7 separate regions of the Homo sapiens genome follow, and regions 1, 3, 4, 5, 6 and 7 are each linked to region 2. The links are contacts of gene promoters, found by promoter capture Hi-C in human tissues and cell types (Jung and others, 2019). All regions are on one chromosome and are shown on one strand. Each heading gives the region's core, a stretch centred on a gene start or on the middle of the fragment in contact. The rest is flanking DNA. Distances are from core to core; before and after follow the strand shown. Region 1 holds the start of LOC124905010 (a long non-coding RNA gene). Region 2 holds the start of DONSON (DNA replication fork stabilization factor DONSON). Region 3 overlaps PAXBP1 (PAX3 and PAX7 binding protein 1). Region 4 holds the start of LOC124905011 (a long non-coding RNA gene). Region 5 overlaps SYNJ1 (synaptojanin 1). Region 6 overlaps SYNJ1 (synaptojanin 1). Region 7 overlaps CFAP298-TCP10L (CFAP298-TCP10L readthrough).

The links. The method cuts DNA at HindIII sites, captures the fragments that hold promoters and counts their contacts. A contact is called where the count stands out against the background at its distance.
Region 1: a contact is called between a fragment that was not itself captured here and the fragment with the promoter of DONSON in region 2, in 2 of the 25 tissues and cell types used here (dorsolateral prefrontal cortex and spleen).
Region 3: a contact is called between a fragment that was not itself captured here and the fragment with the promoter of DONSON in region 2, in 2 of the 25 tissues and cell types used here (dorsolateral prefrontal cortex and spleen).
Region 4: a contact is called between a fragment that was not itself captured here and the fragment with the promoter of DONSON in region 2, in 2 of the 25 tissues and cell types used here (dorsolateral prefrontal cortex and spleen).
Region 5: a fragment that was not itself captured here is called in contact with the fragment with the promoter of DONSON in region 2 in 2 of the 25 tissues and cell types used here (lymphoblastoid cells and spleen).
Region 6: a fragment that was not itself captured here is called in contact with the fragment with the promoter of DONSON in region 2 in 1 of the 25 tissues and cell types used here (hippocampus).
Region 7: a fragment that was not itself captured here is called in contact with the fragment with the promoter of DONSON in region 2 in 1 of the 25 tissues and cell types used here (dorsolateral prefrontal cortex).

What each region holds. Positions count from the first base shown.
Region 1 is chr21:32,750,112-32,752,811 of GRCh38, forward strand. PAXBP1 (PAX3 and PAX7 binding protein 1) reads right to left here. Exons shown (of 18, transcript NM_016631.4): 9 at 1,008-1,107; 10 at 806-921. It overlaps LOC124905010 (a long non-coding RNA gene), which reads left to right and starts at 1,143. Exons shown (of 2, transcript XR_007067844.1): 1 at 1,143-1,241; 2 at 2,005-2,700. The HindIII fragment of the contact is 4,263 bases long and covers 1-2,700 here.
Region 2 is chr21:33,587,323-33,590,022 of GRCh38, forward strand. DONSON (DNA replication fork stabilization factor DONSON) reads right to left here and starts at 1,362. Exons shown (of 10, transcript NM_017613.4): 1 at 999-1,362; 2 at 200-280. The coding sequence starts at 1,319. It overlaps CRYZL1 (crystallin zeta like 1), which reads right to left. Exons shown (of 13, transcript NM_145858.3): 13 at 2,019-2,599. The coding sequence ends at 2,500. RefSeq lists a silencer at 903-1,592 and an enhancer at 1,051-1,550. The HindIII fragment of the contact is 19,336 bases long and covers 1-2,700 here.
Region 3 is chr21:32,732,519-32,735,218 of GRCh38, forward strand. PAXBP1 (PAX3 and PAX7 binding protein 1) reads right to left here. Exons shown (of 18, transcript NM_016631.4): 18 at 1,381-2,549. The coding sequence ends at 2,432. It overlaps PAXBP1-AS1 (PAXBP1 antisense RNA 1), which reads left to right. Exons shown (of 4, transcript NR_038879.1): 2 at 1,071-1,139. Among named protein-coding and RNA genes, the nearest start is that of PAXBP1-AS1, 5.8 kb to the left of the region's middle. The HindIII fragment of the contact is 7,980 bases long and covers 1-2,700 here.
Region 4 is chr21:32,659,292-32,661,991 of GRCh38, forward strand. All of the region lies in intron 18 of SYNJ1 (synaptojanin 1), which reads right to left. LOC124905011 (a long non-coding RNA gene) reads left to right here and starts at 1,937. Exons shown (of 2, transcript XR_007067845.1): 1 at 1,937-2,102; 2 at 2,208-2,700. RefSeq lists a silencer at 1,931-2,120. The HindIII fragment of the contact is 4,160 bases long and covers 1-2,700 here.
Region 5 is chr21:32,687,313-32,690,012 of GRCh38, forward strand. It overlaps SYNJ1 (synaptojanin 1), which reads right to left. Exons shown (of 33, transcript NM_203446.3): 7 at 994-1,055. Among named protein-coding and RNA genes, the nearest start is that of SYNJ1, 39 kb to the right of the region's middle. The HindIII fragment of the contact is 4,811 bases long and covers 1-2,700 here.
Region 6 is chr21:32,709,996-32,712,695 of GRCh38, forward strand. The region is part of intron 2 of SYNJ1 (synaptojanin 1); the gene reads right to left. Among named protein-coding and RNA genes, the nearest start is that of SYNJ1, 17 kb to the right of the region's middle. The HindIII fragment of the contact is 3,764 bases long and covers 1-2,700 here.
Region 7 is chr21:32,605,152-32,607,851 of GRCh38, forward strand. It overlaps CFAP298-TCP10L (CFAP298-TCP10L readthrough), which reads right to left. Exons shown (of 12, transcript NR_146639.2): 3 at 2,498-2,565. It overlaps CFAP298 (cilia and flagella associated protein 298), which reads right to left. Exons shown (of 7, transcript NM_021254.4): 3 at 2,498-2,565. Among named protein-coding and RNA genes, the nearest start is that of CFAP298, 5.9 kb to the right of the region's middle. The HindIII fragment of the contact is 4,387 bases long and covers 1-2,700 here.

The DNA of each region.
Region 1 (2,700 bases), core at 174-2,673, 840 kb before region 2:
CAAAAAGAAAAAAGATAATAATACTGTGATTATACAGAAAAATATACTCATTTAGAGGAAACACACTCTGAAATTTTGGGGAGTGAAGAGCCATGAGGTCTGTAAGTTACTTTCAAATGGTTCAGCAAACACACACATCTCCTTGTATAAAGAGCCAGGCAAACTTGGTGAAATCATAAGCATTGTTATCTGAGTGATAGGTATGTGGATGATCACTGTGCTAGTCTTTCAAATTTTGTTTAGAAATGTTCACTGTAAAAAAAGTAAGAGAAAGAAGCTTCTCCAACTAAGTTCCAAATGGTGTGCAATTGATATAATTCCAAACAATTATAGCCAATGGTGGGAAATGAAGACTTTTATTTGGGATCCTTCTGAAAATGCCTGGCACATAATAGTACTAACCATTCCTCTAAGGTGAGATTACTTATGACTCCCCAAATCAAGAGTTTCCTTCAGGGCTGAGTGCTCTACTGCCAAGCTTTACCTTTCCAGACCAGACAGGCTGCAATGAGAGCTGCCCTCAAGGACCTGACACATTTCCAGTCACTTAAAATTCTACCATTTGGAACAGTAACAACATTTATTATGCAAATACTAAGTACACCCTATGAGAAGATGTTACCCCTATTTTTGAGAATTCATCATGATATTCACTAATAAAAAGGCATGCAAATTTCTGCAATTAAAAAAGAAGTGTCTGGTTCTAATGCAGAGACCATGAAGATTCAAATCATTTCATGGTAAAAACCATACCCAAGTAGAAACTAAACTGATGATGAGTCTTATTTCCAAATAAATGTCTAACCTTTTTCCAGATTGAAATTAGTAATATCTGTAGAAGTTTCTTCATCATCACTGGAAAGGCCTTCAAGGTGATCTGCCATCTTACCGGTTTGTTCTCTGGCTTGTCTACGACGAGTCCTAAATAATAAACATCAAGTTCCCAAACTAGATAACAGAGACTCCTCCCTTCCCAAACAAGCCAGAGCAAGGGTTTTGAGAATTACCTCCTGGCCTCCCGCTCTGCAATGCGACGTTTTGCATGCTCTTGATACAGTGCCCGATCGCGTCCAAAGGAGTCAAGATTTGGTGCCATCAGAGCTTTGTCTGCAAAACAACAACAGTTAAAATTAAAAGCCATCTTTCAACAATCTTGAGGAAAGAGTTTGCACAGAATAAGCCATTACGACAGACTGCTTGCTAATCTCAACGGCAAGATTCTGCAATAACTGGTAAACCAGGTAGGTTTTTGGTTTAGAACAAATTTCATTATTATTCTGCGTTCCCATTTTAAAAAGTAGAAAAATTAAAGAAGTGATTTCTTTTTAAGAGTTCAACAACCCTACAAATATGTAATTGGGCTTACTCACTATTTTTATGTCTAAGTAACAGGACAGCTATCAGGAATAGCTATCATGATGACCAAATAAATTAAAACTCTAAATTACCTGTGCAAAGGGAAAAATATTACATTTTTAAGGAGGAAGAACTTCAGCATCACATTGAATGACAGCAGGAAAACATAGGAAGACATAAGAAAACAGCTTTGTTGCAAGAGTTTAATAAATTTATTGTAATTTTGCTTTGTAGAAATTTGTTTTCTATCACTATTTTTAGAATAAGGCATCTGAAAACCGCATCTGAGCAGGACCAACTTCCGCCTTCTCAAATGCTAATCTTTCTCTTTCACAGCATAGTTTTATTTTATTTTTTTGGTCTTCGTATTTTCCATTTCTCAAAAAACATTCTAGGGTAATTTCCTAGCTTTAGCTTCCAATCCTATTTAAATTTATATTTCAGTTATCATATTTTTAGTTTTCAAGAGATAGTTCTTGTTCTTACAATATTCCTCTTCTACAGCATTCTATATACTCCTGTTGAGTAGGATACCTTCTATTATCTCCCTGGGGCTCCCAACTGTTTGAAAGTAATCTGTTTACAGAAAACTTGCATACTTGTACCAGCACTGTCTGTTTCCTCAGTCCCTTTGGTTCTGCTGCTCAGGTTGGTCCTTATGATCATCGTTAACTGCCTGTTCATATAGAAGAGCAAGACTGGAAGCTGTGTGTGTGGGCAGGAGCTGTCTAACAGAGGTGTCTCCGTCGGATCACTAGGTACTGAGCCAGTTCTTTTGTTGGGGATCCCCAGATTTTAGTGTTTCAGGGTCTTTATTTTGGACCTACTCTCTTTAATCAAAAAAGACTCCCCTAATCTCTTGCCTAGGTAAAAGAAGGGGTGGGGGAAACATCTGTCCACTATACTTCCCTCATTTCTACGTTTTAGTTCCACACTATGAAGATATGACAGTAAGGGGAGGCAAACAACCCAAACGACTGGGTGAGAGGGGAGGGAGGTGAGCACATGCAAGATGAAAGACATCCAAGTTAAGACTTGCATATTTTTTTACTTATCAATTGATATTTACTGATATCAACAGAGATGTGTCACCAAAATCAGCAACAGGAAAAACAAAACCAAAATTTAGCTCTTACTTCAGAATATCCTAATTATCAGACCTTACTATCTATCTATCTATTTATTTATTGAGACGGAGTCTTGCTCTTGTCGCCCAGAATGGAGTGCAATGGCACAACCTCAGTTCACTGCAACCTCCGCCGCCCAGGTTCAAGCGATTCTCCCGCCTCAGCCTCCTCCTGAGTAGCTGGGATTACAGGCACCCGCCACCAGCTAATTTTTGTA
Region 2 (2,700 bases), core at 112-2,611:
TACTGTATCAAACCAACTCCTTTACCTTGGCTGATGCGGTATTTTCATCCCTGGTTGAGATGATCAAGCCTCTCTGTAAAACTACTTTCCAAGCAAAATGCTTCTGAGAAGTATAAATGTATTTTTAAAAATAGGCTCAAATCCTATGAAAAAAAAGTTTATACAAATACACATTCTAATGATATTTAAAAAGTATTACCTGAGGTAATTCAGTAACAGTTGTTCTTTCAGGAAACTTCTCTTCCCATAGCAAATCATTTTCTTGATTAGAATCTAAAAACTGAGGTTAAATATATTCTCCTTTAAAATTTAAAGGATGCTGAAGTTTGCGTTAAATATGTACAGAGCCTCACCTGGCATACATGTTTCTCAATAAACGCAAGTACACCTAAATTCAGAGGCACCCCATCCAATCTATGAGTTTCAACACTTCAGTTTTGTGTCTGAACTTTAGTATCAAAATTGAGGGGAACAGGGACCGGCGTTTCAAACCGAAAGATCCAAAAGGCTTTGGGTAAGACAGATGCTAGTGAATTCTGACCCCACGAATCCTCGACATTCCCCCATCTCCAGAATAATTTGGAGTGCGTGAGAGAAGGGAGGCCCTAAATCACGGGGGAAGCAGGGCTTGTCACCTGCCCCATCGAACAGCGTCCTTGCAAGATGGGGGCTCTCAGGGTTTTTCGAGCTCTTTTCCAAGTCACCTCTAAGTCCTCTCCAAGGGGCTCCTCGCTGCCCTCTGGGGCCCCCTCACTTTCCTCGGGAACGCGTCCCGTGAGCACAGCCCGCAGCGGGGTAGCCAGGGGAGCGCTCTTCCCACAAACCCGGCCTTGCCAGAATCGCGGCTCCCAGGGCGGGGTACCCTAAGGCCACGGGCGGCCGAAGTCTTCGCGCCCATTTCCTTGCCTCGAACGCGAGGACTTTCCATCCCCCATTCACAGCTGGCTCAACCCACGAAAGACAAGAGCCCCTTGGCGGCCAGGCTACAAGACACTCACCGGGACCGGGGCCTCCGGCTGCTCGCGGGCCGGCCCGTCGGGGGGCTCCGCGGCGACCCGCGGTCGGTTGTCCAGGCGGGCGAAGGGGTTCCTCCGAGCAGCGGCCGGGCCGCCGCCGCTGCCACCGCCTCTGCCCCCCGCAGCAGGGAAAGGGCGAAGAGGCAGCCCCGCCACCAGGGCGGCTCGGCGGGCCGCCGGCTCCGTCAGCTCACGGGGCGGGGAGGCGGCAGCTCCACGGCTCCGGGCCCTTTTCCGTCGGAGCCGCACTACCTCGGGCGGCTTTCGGAAGCCCGGTGAGTAGCCGGGCACCGAAAGGGCCATGACGCGCGGCGGCTGAGGGTAGCCGGCCGCCCTACAGAGACTTCCCGCGCGCGCCGGGCCCGCCCCTGACGTGGCGCCTCGCCGAGCTCCCGCCCCCGACGCGGCCCCGCCTCCGCCCCCGCCGGTTCCGAGCGGAGCATGCGCAGTGGGCAGCCCGCGAGACGCAGCCCGCAGCGGCGATCCCGGGTGGCCGTCAACGCCCACTGTCCCAGCGGTGACCCTGCCCTGGCGCTTCTGCCAGGTCCTCGGCCAGAGTCCAGTCGCCAGGTTCAGCGACGCTTCTGGAAAGTATGCGATCCAGGGCGCTGATGTGCACTACCCTGTGGGGCACCGAAATAGCTTAACTCTATTTAAGCCCGCAGCAGGGATGTGATCAGCCCGGGGTTTGGCGCCTGGATGAAAAGGAAACAAACTTGAGCTGCGGCGATGGGCTGCTGCTTCCATAAACTTAAGAGAGGGCAGTGGCTACTGCTCTCAAGAGGCGAGGAGAGGGGACTAGGCCACCTTCCTCAACCCCCAGAGAACTCAGATAAGACGTCAGCACGCTTCCTATGCCAGCGCAGCCTACCGACATCCCTCCCTTCCCCGTTCCCAGTGCCTGGTCATCTCAGACTTCCAGGCAGCTGCCACTGGCAAGTTAATGGGATCTTCTTTGATCCTGGGGAAAGCCGGAGTGAATGAATAGTTGAAAACACAAAATTTAAGTGCCTATGGGCTAAGTCTTTTAAGACTTCAAAATATACTCAAATGCTTAAATTATGACAGCAAAGACTTAAGGAAGGTGTTGAGAACGGAGTTGATACAAAATTAATACGTTACTTTGATAGCTTAGCAAAGGCCTGCAACAGCTTTTATCAAGAGTAGTGTGACTTTTGCTGAAAGCAGCAGTTTTCTTCATGGAAGGAATTTTATAGCAGGGGCAAAATATATAGAAACAATGAAAAGGTTTTTAGAAAAATTCCCTTAAGATGTTAATTATAGAATTATCTTGATCATTTGCACAAGAATTTTTCAAACACTTTTCAAATGTGTCAACTGAGCATCTTGTCTTAGCAGAGAAACGTGCTTAAAAATGCAACTTGTTTTATCTTCCTTGGTTTTTCTCAACAATTTCCAAAGAAAATTCTGGCTTCAAATACTGGAATATGTTCATCCGACTGAGGTCTGAGAAAGAAGAAAATTAAAATTGAACAACTTGCTTTTTTCTTCCTTGATTTTTCTGAACAGCTTCCATGGAAACTTTTGCCTCATACAGTGGAATGGGTTCATCCAACTGAGGTCTGAGAAGGAATGAAATTAGAAATGTCAGGTCTAGTTAAAGATAAGTAGAACAAACAGGGTGGTATATGACAAATGCTAGTGCTCAAATCTATTAGTGTAT
Region 3 (2,700 bases), core at 10-2,509, 850 kb before region 2:
GTGAGACCTGCCTGCCTCATTGTCTGACAGCTTTCCCAGCCTCCTCCAGGCTCCCCTCCGTTTTCTCTTATACGCATTCCCCCAATAAACTTCCTGTACATTTAATACCATCTCAGTGTCTGCTCCCAGGAGGACCCTAACTGACACACTGGGGCATTTAGCCTCCAATTCCTTTTCTCCCTTGGCTGAGATCTGTTCCAGGAAGTATCTCCAGGACACTCCAGCCTGTTGCACAGGCCAAAGAAAAGCCCTCAGGCAGAGGAGCAAATACTTGCAAGAGGACACCAGTGGCAAGAACAGGGACATGGTGAGACTTCGACATCATTGGCTACAGTAGTACTAGTCACTCTTGACTGTGGTTTATGTTGTTTCAATAAAGTAGCTTTCCTTCTCAAAAACATTTGTCACCTATTTTGGAGTTAATTCAGAGGATTGCTCCAAAAGAAAAAACTGAAAAGCAAAACCAGCTTTATTAAAATGTAACCCTCTGGATTTATCTTTTGATAATTCCTTTCATAAGAAATAATGTCCTTAAGCTATTTCAGGAATAAAAATGTTCTGCTTGGGATAGAAAAACCATTGTTTTATGTACCCTACATCAAATTCCTAGTGTGATGTTCAAACCCATTCCTGAAACCAATATAGCCTGACAGATTTCATAGGATAAAAACTCTATTTTAAGAGTTCTTAAAAGCAGAGTAATTAGTCTAATGGGTTTGGAAATAATATGCAGTTTAAGGCCTAAATGATCTGTATGTGATACAGATACATGTTTTATGTTTTATTCTACTTAAGATGAGGAATAGGTGTTCTGACTTTAATTCTACTTAGTAGGCCAGTAAGGTGTAATGAAAAATTCATCCAGAATGAATACTGATTTGGTTTGGTTCTGTGTCCCCACCCAAATCTCACCTTGAATTGTAATAATCCCCACATCAAGGGCGGGACCAGGTGGAGATAACTGAATCATGGGGGGTGGTTTCCGCCATGCTGTTCTCCTGAGTTCTCATGAAATCTCATGGCTTCATAAGGGACTTCCCCCTTCCCTCAGCACTCATTTCTCTCTGCAGCCACCCTGTGAAGACGTGCCTTTCGTCAAGATTGTAAGTTTCCTGAGGCCTTCCCACCCATGCGGAACTGTGAGTCAATTAAACCTCTTTATAAATTACCTAGTCTCAAGTATGTCCCTATAACAGCGTGAGAATGAACTAATACAAATATGTAGGGATAAGATAAAATTAACAGAGCAAATACAGTGCATGACACTGTTCTGCATATTATGTCCTGATCAAGGGTACACATGGGCCTGCTCACAGTCCCACTTTATTAGAGTCATTTGAAATGCTGCAAATTTAGTCGTCAGGAAAATACAACAAAGGATATATTTAAAAATTAATTTAATGCTTGGCTAAATCTTAATTACATATATAATTATCAAACGATAGTCCTTAATTTCCAAAAAAATTCCTCTTTTGAAAATCACAGAATCAGAAAGCATAAACTTTAAAACAAGTTCTCTGAATATTTACAATGTGGTATAAACATTATAGAAGACCATGGATATTAAATTGCCTGGGTGTGGCTAATCAGCAAGGCGTATTCTTTATTGCATATTTAACTCACATATGTGGGATTTTAAATATGACAGACTACTAAAATTCAAATGCATGTATCTGCAAGCTGGGCAGGGAGTAAAATCATGAATGAGACAGGACGGTCAGCCCAAAACCATGCAATTAGGTTGTGGGTTTATTATTTTCAAAAGTGAAATTTCTATGTTCCATTTGAAACTATGTTGCATATTCATTTAGCATTCACATTAAACCCACATTTGACTCTAACGCTGATTCAAGGAAGAAAGTTCAACATTCACTCAATGACTAAGTCCACAACTCAACTCTCAATGTTAAGGCAGCACAGCTACAGTGATAGCAACGCTAACCAAAAGGTAATGAACATTTAGTCACTTGCCAGCCCTTTTGTTACAACAGTGTAGTAATTTCCCTAAGACAATTTGCTACCGGATAATTTTCTGCTGTTAAAAGGCTTCCTCTGTGGAAAAACACCACAAATTTCCAGTGTGAAAGTAAGTCCATGGTGGTATAAATATATATATGCATAATTACACAATTTACACTGCACACATCGTTTACAGGGGACAATTAACTGAGAGGGTTAATTTAAATGACCATACAAAATACTTCAGTAAACAAAGTATGACAGGCAGTAAAGAAAACATTCATAGACTCCTAGAAATAATCTGAATTCCTTTCATTCTGAAGAAATATCATTTAAGGACACAGTATTGAATATAATGTTTTTTGTATTAAAACAAGAATTGCTATTTTACAGTTTAAGAAACTTTACATATATACAAAATTTACACATTGGGAATGGTAATCAAGCAAATAGGTTTTTCAGTCTCATAGATCTATTTTCCTTCGATCAAAGACTTAAATTCTTTCACATTGTGGTCACTTGCAACAGACATAGCATGATCCAAAGCTCGAACACTTGCAAGGAGTTTTACTATCTGTTTTATGTTTTCCCTAAAAGAAAAAAATATAGCAGCATCTCATTAATTAGTATATCTAAGAGAAAATTTGCTACTGATTTCATGGCTATTTTAGAGCTTCTGCAATCAATTTTTCCAAGCACACATTTTCAAAGAAAGGAAACAGATATGCAAGCTACAGCATG
Region 4 (2,700 bases), core at 125-2,624, 930 kb before region 2:
TGAATCTTATAGATACATAATATATTTTTCTTTATGGGAATTATTATGGGTTTTCTCTTTCCTATTTTTATTACTTTTAAGGGAGGACACCACCCCACATATTGTCTTATGCCCAATTTCTGCCTCCAAAGAAAGAAGAAGTAAAAACTAAAAGGCAGAAATGGAAGCCACAAGCAGATAGCCCAGCACTGCGCCCTGGGCCTGGTGGTTAAAAATCAACCCCTGACCTAACTGTTTGTGTTACCTATAGATTTCAGGCCTGTATGGAAAAGCATCATGAAAATCCCTGTCCTGTTCTGTTCTGATTACTGGTGCATGCAGCCCCCAGTCACATACCCCCTGCTTGCTCAATTGATCATGACCCTATCACGCGGACCCCCTTGGAGTTGTAAGCCCTTAAAAGGGACAGGAATTGCTCACTCGGGGAGCTCAGTTTTTGGAGACGCAAGTCTGCCGATGCTCCCAGCTGAATAAAGCCCTTTCCTTCTACAACTCGGTGTCTGAGGGGTTCTTGTCTGAGGCTCGTCCTGCTACATTTCTTGGTTCCCCGACCGGGAAGTGAGGTGATTAACGGATGGTCAAGGCAGCCCCTTAGGTGGCTTAGGCCTGCCCTGTGGCACATCCCTGTGGGGGACTCCGGCCAGCTTGAGCAATGCGGATCCTGAGAGCACTTCCGGGTAGGTAATTGCCCCGGTCGAACGCCTCACCACAGCAGCGCATGGCAGGCCCCCATGAGTTAAAGGAAAAACTTATGTTGGCCCCAGCCCTAGGACTACCAGATTTGACAAACCCCTTTACACTCTATGTGTCAGAAAGATAAAAAATGGCAGTTGGAGTTTTAACCCAGACTGTGCGGCTCTGGCCAAGGCCAGTGGCCTATCTCTCAAAACAACTAGATGGGGTTTCCAAAGGCTGGCCCCCATGTCTAAGGGCCCTGGCAGCAATGGCCCTGTTAGCACAAGAAGCAGATAAACTAACCCTTGGGCAAAACCTGAATATAAAGGCCTTCCATACTGTGGTAACTTTGATGAATACCAAAGGACATCATTGGCTAACAAATGCTAGATTAACCAAGTACCAAAGCTTGCTATGTGAAAATCCCCGCATAATCACTGACGTCTGTAACACCCTAAATCCCGCCACCCTGCTCCCAGTATCAGAGAGCCTGGTCAAGCATAACTGTGTAGACATGTTGGACTCAGTTTATTCTAGCAGACCTGACCTTCGGGACCAGCCATGGGCATCAGCAGACTGGGAGTTATACATGGACGGGAGCAACTTCATCAATCCACATGGAGAAAGATGTGCAGGATATGCGGTGGTAACTTTGAACGCTGTCATTGAAGCCAAACCATTGCCACAGGGCACTTCAGCCCAGAAGGCTGAGCTCATTGCTTTAACTCGGGCTCTAGAACTCAGTGAAGGTAAGACTGTAAACATCTACACTGACTCTTGATATGCCTTTCTAACCCTCCAAGTGCATGGAGCATTATATAAGGAAAAGGGCCTGTTAAACTCTAGGGGAAAGGACATAAAATATCAACAAGAAATTCTACAATTATTAGAGGCAGTGTGGAAACCTCAGAAGGTGGCAGTCATGCACTGCAGGGGACACCAGCGAGCCTCCACCTCAGTGGCCTTAGGAAACTCCCAAACTGACTCAGAAGCTCGAAAAGCAGCATCTACCCCTTACTGTGCATCAGTAGCAGCCCCCTTACTCCCTCAAACACCTGACCTGGTACCTACCTATTCTAAGGAAGAAAAAGACTTTTTCCACACAGAAGTGGGGCAAGTAATAAAAGAAGGATGGATCAGACTGCCAGATGGGAAGGTAGCTGTGCCACAGTTGCTGAGAGCCACAGTCGTACTGGCCATGCATGAAACCACTCTTCTAGGTCAAGAGTCACTTGAAAAGTTGTTAGGCCGGTACTTCTACATCTCACACTTGCCAGCCCTTGCCAAAGCAGTAGCACAATGGTGTGTTACTTGCTGACAGCGCAATGTGAGGCAAGGCCCCACGGTTCCACCCAGCATACAAGCTTATGGAGCGGCTCCTTTTGAGGGTCTTCAGGTGGATTTCACAGAAATGCCAAAATGTGAAGGTAACAAGTATTTGCTGGTTCTTGTGTGTACTTACTCTGGGTGGGTGGAGGCTTATCCAACACAAACTGAAAAGGCCTACGAAGTAACCCGTGTGCTTCTCCGAGATCTTATTCCTAGGTTTGGACTGCCCTTACGAATTGGCTCACATAACGGGCCGGTGTTTGTGGCTGACTTGGTACAGAAGACAGCAAAGGCATTAGGAATCACTTGGAAACTACATGCCGCCTACTGACCTCAGAGTTCTGGAAAGGTGGAGCGAATGAATCAGACTATCAAAAATAGTTTAGGGAAAGTATGTCAGGAAACAGGATTAAAATGGATACAGGCCCTTCCTATGGTATTGTTTAAAATTAGATGCATCCCTTCTAACAGGATACTCCCCTTATGAAATACTGTATCATAGGCCTCCTCCTATACTAGGGGGACTTCCAGGCACTCCCCGAGAGTTAGGTGAAATTGAGTTACAGTGACAGCTACGGGCTTTGGGAAAAATTACACAAACAATCTCAACTTGGGTAAATGAGAGGTGTCCCGTCAGCTTATTCTCCCCAGTTCACCCTTTCTCTCCAAGTGATCGCATGTGGATCAAGGACTGGA
Region 5 (2,700 bases), core at 183-2,682, 900 kb before region 2:
TCCAGCTTCTGCCCACTCTGTGAGGCTGGCACCAGACAAGACAGACACCAGCCATAAGCTTGACTGGAAAGGCAGTAAGGGCAGATGGCAAAGGGCTGCTGCTCACATGTGAGGACATCACCTACTCCGTTGAGTATTCAGAGGGACCTCCTTACTAGCTCCAGTCTTCAGAAAAATGGGCCCCAAATACGAGTCTTTTCTCTTTCCAGCTTCTAACCATTCCAGAAACTATGTAGAGCAATGCCACACAAAGAAATGTAACATAAACCACACCTATAATGTTAAATTTTCAAGAAGGTGCATTTATAAACATGAAATTAATTATACTTTCTTTAACTCAACATGTCTAAAATATCATTTCAACATGTAATCAATATAAAACAACTACAGTTAACCTTTCAACAACACAGGTTTGAACTGTGCAAGTCCACTTATATATGGATTTTTTTCAACCAAAGAAGAATCAAAACTACAGTATTCCTGGCATGCAAAACCCATGAATATGAATGATGACTTTTCATAAGCATGGGTTCCACATGGCCGACTGTGGGACTTGAGTATGCACAGATTTTGGTATGTGAGGGTAGAACCAATACTCTGAGTATACCGAACATGATTTTACTAATGAGATACCTTACATTCTTTTTTATTTTTTAAGGCAGTCTTTGAAATCTAGTGTGCATTTTATACTTGCAGCACATCTCAACTGAGACTAGTCACATTTCAAGTGCCCAGTAGCTACATGTGGCTAGTGGCTGCTATACTGGACAATGCGCCCACAGAGGAAGTTTTAAGGTCAAGAGATCAAGACCCACACTTCCAGCACTACCACCCCCAGAAGTCGTAACACTAGGTGTCACTGTCTTTCAATTAAATTAGGAGTCAGAGGAATTTTATTTAAAGCCAAAAAAGTTTGAAGTGAATCAGTAAATACAAGCAGTCCCACTGCTTAGCAATATCAAAACTTAAAGCACTATGTAAAAATTGTCTTACCTGTCAAAAGCAGGTGCATTGGCTTCAAATCCCCTTGACATACGGACACGATGAGATCCCACCTTAGACAAGAAAAATATATTTAATCAAACCAAAAACCAACATATAGACGAAAGAAATATCACTGCTTACAATATCTAACAATTTCTTTGCTGAACACACAGTCGTTAATCAAATAACTGATTTCCATTCATGATATGCTTTTAAAAAAACAAGTTCCAGGGAATTTCCACCCTCCACCTTTATTTTTAAAAAACCAACCTCATCAAAAAAAGAAGTTACATCATTATGAAATACTCGTAAACTAGTAGGAATTTTTATTGATGAAAACTATTTTTAAAGGTGTTTTCATATATGGTACTTTGTTTTAAGTTCAAACTACATGCCCTGTGTAACAGATACTATTACCATTTGGGTAATTAAAAAAACCAAAATACCAACAGGTAAAATAACTTGCTATCTGAGATCAACATAACCAATTCCAAAAGAGATTCAGATGAGACTTTATGTCTCTGACCTAAATTCCTACTCCTCCAAGCTGCCTACCAATACAAATGTCTATGTGTTTTCTTCTCTACTATGTTGAATATTCTATTCACACCAAAGTTCCACCAAATTGAGAATATCATTCCTTCCTGGAAAAGCAGACTTTCCAAGTCAACCTTGCCATCACCCAATTATAGTATTTGCACATTTTGCAGAATCAGGAATTTTGGGTTAAGCAAATTAAACAAGATGGAAAATATCTACCTATTGTATATTGTTATAATTTTTCTTTTCTTACACAGGAGAATAGCAGAGAGATGAGGCATAATTGAGAAAGATATAACATGCCAAGAAGAAATATATAGGTGAGACCAGATTATTTCCCTGAACTTCAATTTAAACATTTCTCTCTGAGACGTTGGAATGAAGGTTGCCCAATCACAACAAGGATCACTGAGGGGGGGCAAAAAAGTTGCCCAAAATTCATTCTTGCTAACCTGTGAACAAAGTGCTTTTTTTTGTGGGGGACGGAGTCTCACTCTGTTGCCAGGCTGGAGTGCATTGGCGTGATCTCGGCTCACTGCAACCTCTGCCTCCCGGGTTCAGGCGATTCTCCTGCCTCAGCCTCCCGAGTGGCTGGGACTACAGGCGCCCGCCACCACGCCCAGCTAATTTTTGTATTTTTAGTAGAGACAGGGTTTCGCCATGTTGGCCAGGATGGTCTCAATCTCTTGACCTTGTGATCTGCCCGCCTCAGCCTCCCAAAGTGCTGGGATTACAGGCATGAGCCACCGCGCCCCGCGCAAAGTGCTTTTAAAGAGGGTGTAAAAGGGGGGTTGTCAAATCAGTCATGTAATTGGACAAGTAAAACCAGAAAATAAACTCTAATATGCTCATCCAATTCCAAAACTGAATTAACAGTACAGTATTATCATTCATTAAGCATTATCCCTCACTGCACTAAGTCAGATAATCTAATGAGTATTCTGATAACCAGGGGATTCTCTCTTTAATTTTTAAATAAGAAATCAATTAGCCTAATGTCACATCTGTGTTCAATTTCATTTTATGGTACTTAATAATATTCATAAAAGTTTAAAATTTGAAAGACGTATGTCCCAGGACATTAAGCATTTTAGACTGCAGAAAACTCACAAGTTGATACTTTTTCTTTGGAGTAATCCCAGATTAATTGCCTATCACTCCATACAAGTTCAAAAC
Region 6 (2,700 bases), core at 124-2,623, 880 kb before region 2:
TGAGACTAGCCTGGCCAACATGGTAAAAAACCCATCTCTACTACAAAAAATACAAAAATTAGCCGGGCATGGTTGCAGACACCTGTAATCCCAGCTACTTGGAAGGCTAAGGCATAAAAGCTCGAACCCAGGAGGTTGAGGTTGCAGTGAGCCGAGATTACATCATTGTACTCCAGCCTGAGTGACAGAACAAGATGCCTTCTCAAAATAAATAAATAAAAACATAAATAAATAAATAAATAAGGAGGGAGAGATAGTAGGTAGAAATATAGAAAAACAAAAGTGTCCATGAGTTGATATTATGGAGGCTAGGTGACATATGTAACAGTTACACTATTTCTCCAAATAAAATGTTAAAAAAATTATTACATTCTTTGAACTATTGGATAAATTCAGAAAGGAGAGAGATAACTCTGGCCAATTATCTTGAGACAGCCAGAAGCTACTGGAATTCTAAGGGATCAGAGAAGAACTTTTCTCTAATTACCCTAGACCAGGAGTGCATTAGCCAAAAGTTTAACAGACATTTGAACTTTTTTTTTTTTCCCAAACAGGATCTCTCACTCTCACCCAAGCCTGAGTGCAGTGGCATGATCATAGCTCACTGTAACCTGAAACCCCTGGGCTCAAGCGATTCTCCCGCCTCAACCTCCCAAAGTGCTGGGATTATAAGTGTGAGCCATTGCACCTGATTGATTTGGACTTTTATAAACTTCAAAGGGACTTGTAAGTCCTACAATCTTTAGAATGGCCCCATAGCCCACACTTCCCAAGGCTCTCAAACACTCATCAAATAGTAAATATATAATAAATTAAGAAAGGAAAAGATTTAGTAATTCCAGAATGGAGGCCTTAGGAAGGGTAAATATTGTTATACCCTGCCATCAATGTTTTCCTTATATTCTTCCTAAATAATTTAGTTTTAATATTCTAACTGTTGAAATGGAAACTATACTTGGAAAATAATAAGTTTGTTTTTGCTCATTATCACAGAAGTTAGGAAATATTTAAAACTATATAAAGCCATGAGGTAGTAATATCCTACAACTTAATTCAGATAACTCAACTCCTTCCTTATTTTAGTTTTGTGCATGTTTTCAAACTTCTTTTAACTGAACAAATTCATGCATGACTGAAGGGAGCCCCAACCTACAACTTTTCCTCGTTAAGCTACTGGAAGGTGACAAAAATAGAAACGGTAGAGGTGGTCTATTTATAGACTACAGAAAACACTCAGAGTATAAATATATCAATTGTTCTCTATCAAAATTTAACATATCAATTGTGCTCTATCATATTATTTGACATCCTCCACCTTTTTCTTTTTTCTGGAGTGACTTACTTTTTTTTTTTTTTGAGATGGAGTCTCGTTCTGTCGCCAGGCTGGAGTGCAGTGGTGTGATCTTGGCTCACTGCAACCTCCACCTCCTGTGTTCAAGCGATTCTTCTGCCTCAGCCTCCAGAGTAGCTGGGACTACAGGCGCGCGCCACCATGCCCAGCTAATTTTTGTATTTTTAGTAGAAACGGGTTTCACCATGTTGGCCAGGATGGTCTCGATCTCTTGACCTCATGATCTGCCCACCTCAGCCTCCCAGAGTGCTGGGATTACAGGTGTGAGCCACCGCGCCCAGCAATGACTTATAATACTATGTCATGTGACATAACTGGCATTATTCAGCATTGTTGTATTACAACCTCGTTTCTCAAATTAGAATTTAAGGCAAATAATGAAGTATTAGGATCAAATATAAAAATTCAGATGAAGACATAATCATATACCTATTTCTTGATTTTCATGAGTTGTGGCTCTAAAAGAGAGGCTTGTTAAACATAACATAGTTGTCGCATGATAATCACACCTGCATTGCTAACTCCACATCTGAACAGAAAAGAAACAAAATTAACTTCTTATCCAAGAGCAATAGGTAACTTAAATGTCACTTTCATTTTACTTTAAAAGTATTTTCAGGATTAAATTTAAATGTAAATTTCTCCAACTTCTGATGGATTATAATAATTTAAGCTAAATAATAAAGCCATCCAAATGAAGGGCCTACTATCCAATGTCAACATTCTGCTGTGGGTCAAACCTTGCAGTCTGAGAATACACTGTTCTTCCCCAGCTGATACAGAAGACTAAGCTAAAGAAGGTCAATAACAATGTAAAAATAAGACTGCATGTTAGAATGATCTCTCTAGAACCACAATTTGCCTGTGGTTGCATGCACTGCAGTTTGTGGTGAGCTTATTTGCATGCAGACAGCACTTTGGTATAGAACCAGAGAACCTCCTGTATGAGGATCCTAGAGATCATGTAATCCAAGCTTCTCATTTTCAGAAGAAAAAGAGTAGAGATTAGATCATTCATCCAAGATCACATAACTAGCTGGCAGTAAAGCTTCTTTCCATTTCATCATATATAAAGAGAAAAATTATTTTAAAAGGAAAAGGTTTCTCTTACAAAAGTAATTAAAATTCCAGCTGAAAGATATTAAACTATCTAAATTAATGTCCTATTTAAACTTCACATTCCAATCTTGGTGACATTTAAGGAAAAAAAAAAAACTTTCATTCACGCAAGAAGTATTTATTGAATGCCTACCATGCACCAGGCCCCTGGCAAGGTTCTAGGAATAAAAACAGTCAGTACCGTGACACCTTCTTAGGAATCAGATTAGGAAGACAGGAATTATATAACC
Region 7 (2,700 bases), core at 201-2,700, 980 kb before region 2:
TTGGGCAACAGAATAAGACTCTGCCTCAAAAAAAAGAACAGACCTAGTTGGAGGGAGACCAGGTAGCAGGCTCTGAAGAGTACAGAGGAAGGTGTGATGAAATAACAAATATATCTGGTCTTTGCTACTCAGTTCCAGGCACAGAGCTCCAAAACTCTTGGAATTTCCTGAGTGACAGGAGTGTCTTGTTATTTATAACGAGCCCCTTCTCACCATACCTGAGCTTGTGCTAATACAGTAACCTGTAGTCCGCGCTGGGTTTCAAGGAAGGGGCTGGCCGTGCCTGGGAGACCAAGCACATAATTAGAGGGTTGGAGCTTTCGGCCTCACTCCCTTCCTCCACCTCCAGGCGCTAGAGGTTGGGATCAAACACGTGGCCAGTGGTTTAAGCCATCATGCCTACTGAACAAAAACGCTATAAAAATCCCAGACATCATGGCTCAGTGAAGCTTCCTGATTGGTGAAGACGTTGATGTGCCGGGTGACACACATCAGTGGGGGCGTTGTGGGAAGCTCCAAATTTGTAGTCAAGCTGGACACAAGTATGGGTGGCCTGGGGACCTCACGTGCAGCTGGTGTCTGAAATAAGAGGAGTCTTGTTGGTGATCTCACCCTTTAACTTTTAGGTCTGATGCTAACTCCAGGCAGTTAGTGTCAGAATTGAAGGATCTGCCCTTGACCTGTGGGGTCTGTGCTGTCTCTGAGTAGTTAGTGTCAGAACGGAATTGAATTGACTGGCAGGACCCCCAGTGGGCATCAGAATGCAAAAGGCTACAGGAGAGCCTTAAAGAAAGCCACAGCTGTGGAAGTGAAAGGAAGAGGTGGACTTAAGAGGCATCATGGGAGCAGACGGTACAGAACCCCACTTCAAACCTAGAGGTGACAGAAGGGAGAAGTGTTGAAGATGACACTGAGGATTTGCCCTATAAAACCAAGACACTGTGGTTCTGTTACTGGAAACAGAGAAGCTCATAGGAGGTGCTGATTCTCAGGGACAGAACAGAGAGGGAGAGGAGTGAGGAAGCAAAGAGCTCATTTCTAGAAAACTGGACTTCAAAGTGCTGACTGGGTGTTCAGATAGAACCATCTCACAACCAGCTGGAAATTCAGGTTGGAAGTGAAGCAAGATGTCAGGGGGAAAGGATGGAAGCTTCAGAGTTATCTGCAGAGGGTGGAATTTGCATTTGGCAGAGTAGATAAGATACTGAGAGAGGAAGAAGACCAAGGATAAAAAGTACTTTCAGAAGTACACAGGCAAAGGGGAGAAGTGAGGCGACCGAGAGAGGAGTTCCACAGCAAAGTGTGGGGAGAAGGGTGCAGAACAACAGCCAGACCACTGTTTTCTTGCCATGGCCTGAGACGTGCTCACATGCCTAGATGCCATCACCACGCAAACGACGGGCTCAACCAGGGCCTCTCCTGTAGAGCTTCATAAAGCCTTTCCTATATTAACAGGCACAGAGCTTCAGGGCAGCCTTTGCTGAGGCTCTTCAAAGATTAGTCAAAAGCTTGGTAAGTTTGAGAAATATTGGTTTAAAAATAACAGTTCTGCTGAGCAAACCAGGAGAAGCAGAAGAAAAAGTGGTGATCAGTCAAGAGACTTGCAGTTGAGAGCGGTAGCAACTAATATCACCAACACACAAATACAAGCAACAGATACAGATACCACTTCTTTCAATAGCCTTAAATTCTCTTCCTCCAGATACACATTATCTGTATATCAATGGTATAAATTTACGCTCCTCCCTCTATAAACTAGCCTTTGTATAAAATGCTGAAGACAATTACAAAAAACCATTTATATCAAATACATATTAAGTCAATCAAGTGTCTGGAGAGCTACTCGATGGCCACAATATTCAAATCTCCCCTACTTAACTTTGTTAAGTTCTTCAAAAAGGTAAAAGAAATGAAATCAACATTTGTATTATACATATTTGTATTATACGTGAACCTATATTTACATAAGCCAACAAAAATTTGTGTCTGCCTGGAGGAACGGAGAGGCCTCTGGGCAACCGTCAGGATTATGAAAGGAAAAGCTACAGCCTACCCCAAATACGCTTGTTTCCTTTGCCTCCGGAAGGCTGAAAGAGAAGGCTGGCTGAGAGGCAACTCTGGAAGCCAGAGTTGGAGTTTTATCTCAAAAGACAAGTTTTAGGCCGGGCGCGGTGGCTCATGCCTGTAATCCCAGCACTTTGGGAGGCCAAGACAGGCGGATCACCTGAGGTCAGGAGTTCGAGACCAGCCTGACCAACATGGAGAAACCCCGTCTCTACTAAAAATACAAAATTAGCTCGGCATGGTGGTGCATGCCTGTAATCCCAGCTACTCGGGAGGCTGAGGCAGGAGAATTGCTTGAACCCAGGAGGTGGAGGTTGTGGTGAGCCGAGATCGCACCATTGCACTCCAGCCTGGGCAACAAAAGCAAAATTCCATCTCCAAAAAAAAAAAAAAAAACCCAACAAGTTTTAGTGCATCATTTAAAAAAGCCAACCTTAGATATTATTGCTTTGGCTTCTTCTATAGTCTTCTTTAACACTTGCTTCATCTTCTCATTTGGAGCTATAAAAATAAAAAGGAGAGAGGGAGAAAGAGCTGTCAAATACAAAGCCTCTTCTGAAATACCTCAATCCCCTCTGTCTGAGTCAGGGGGTAAATGAACTGAGAGAGAGTGCGAGTGTGGAATTTAGGGAAGAG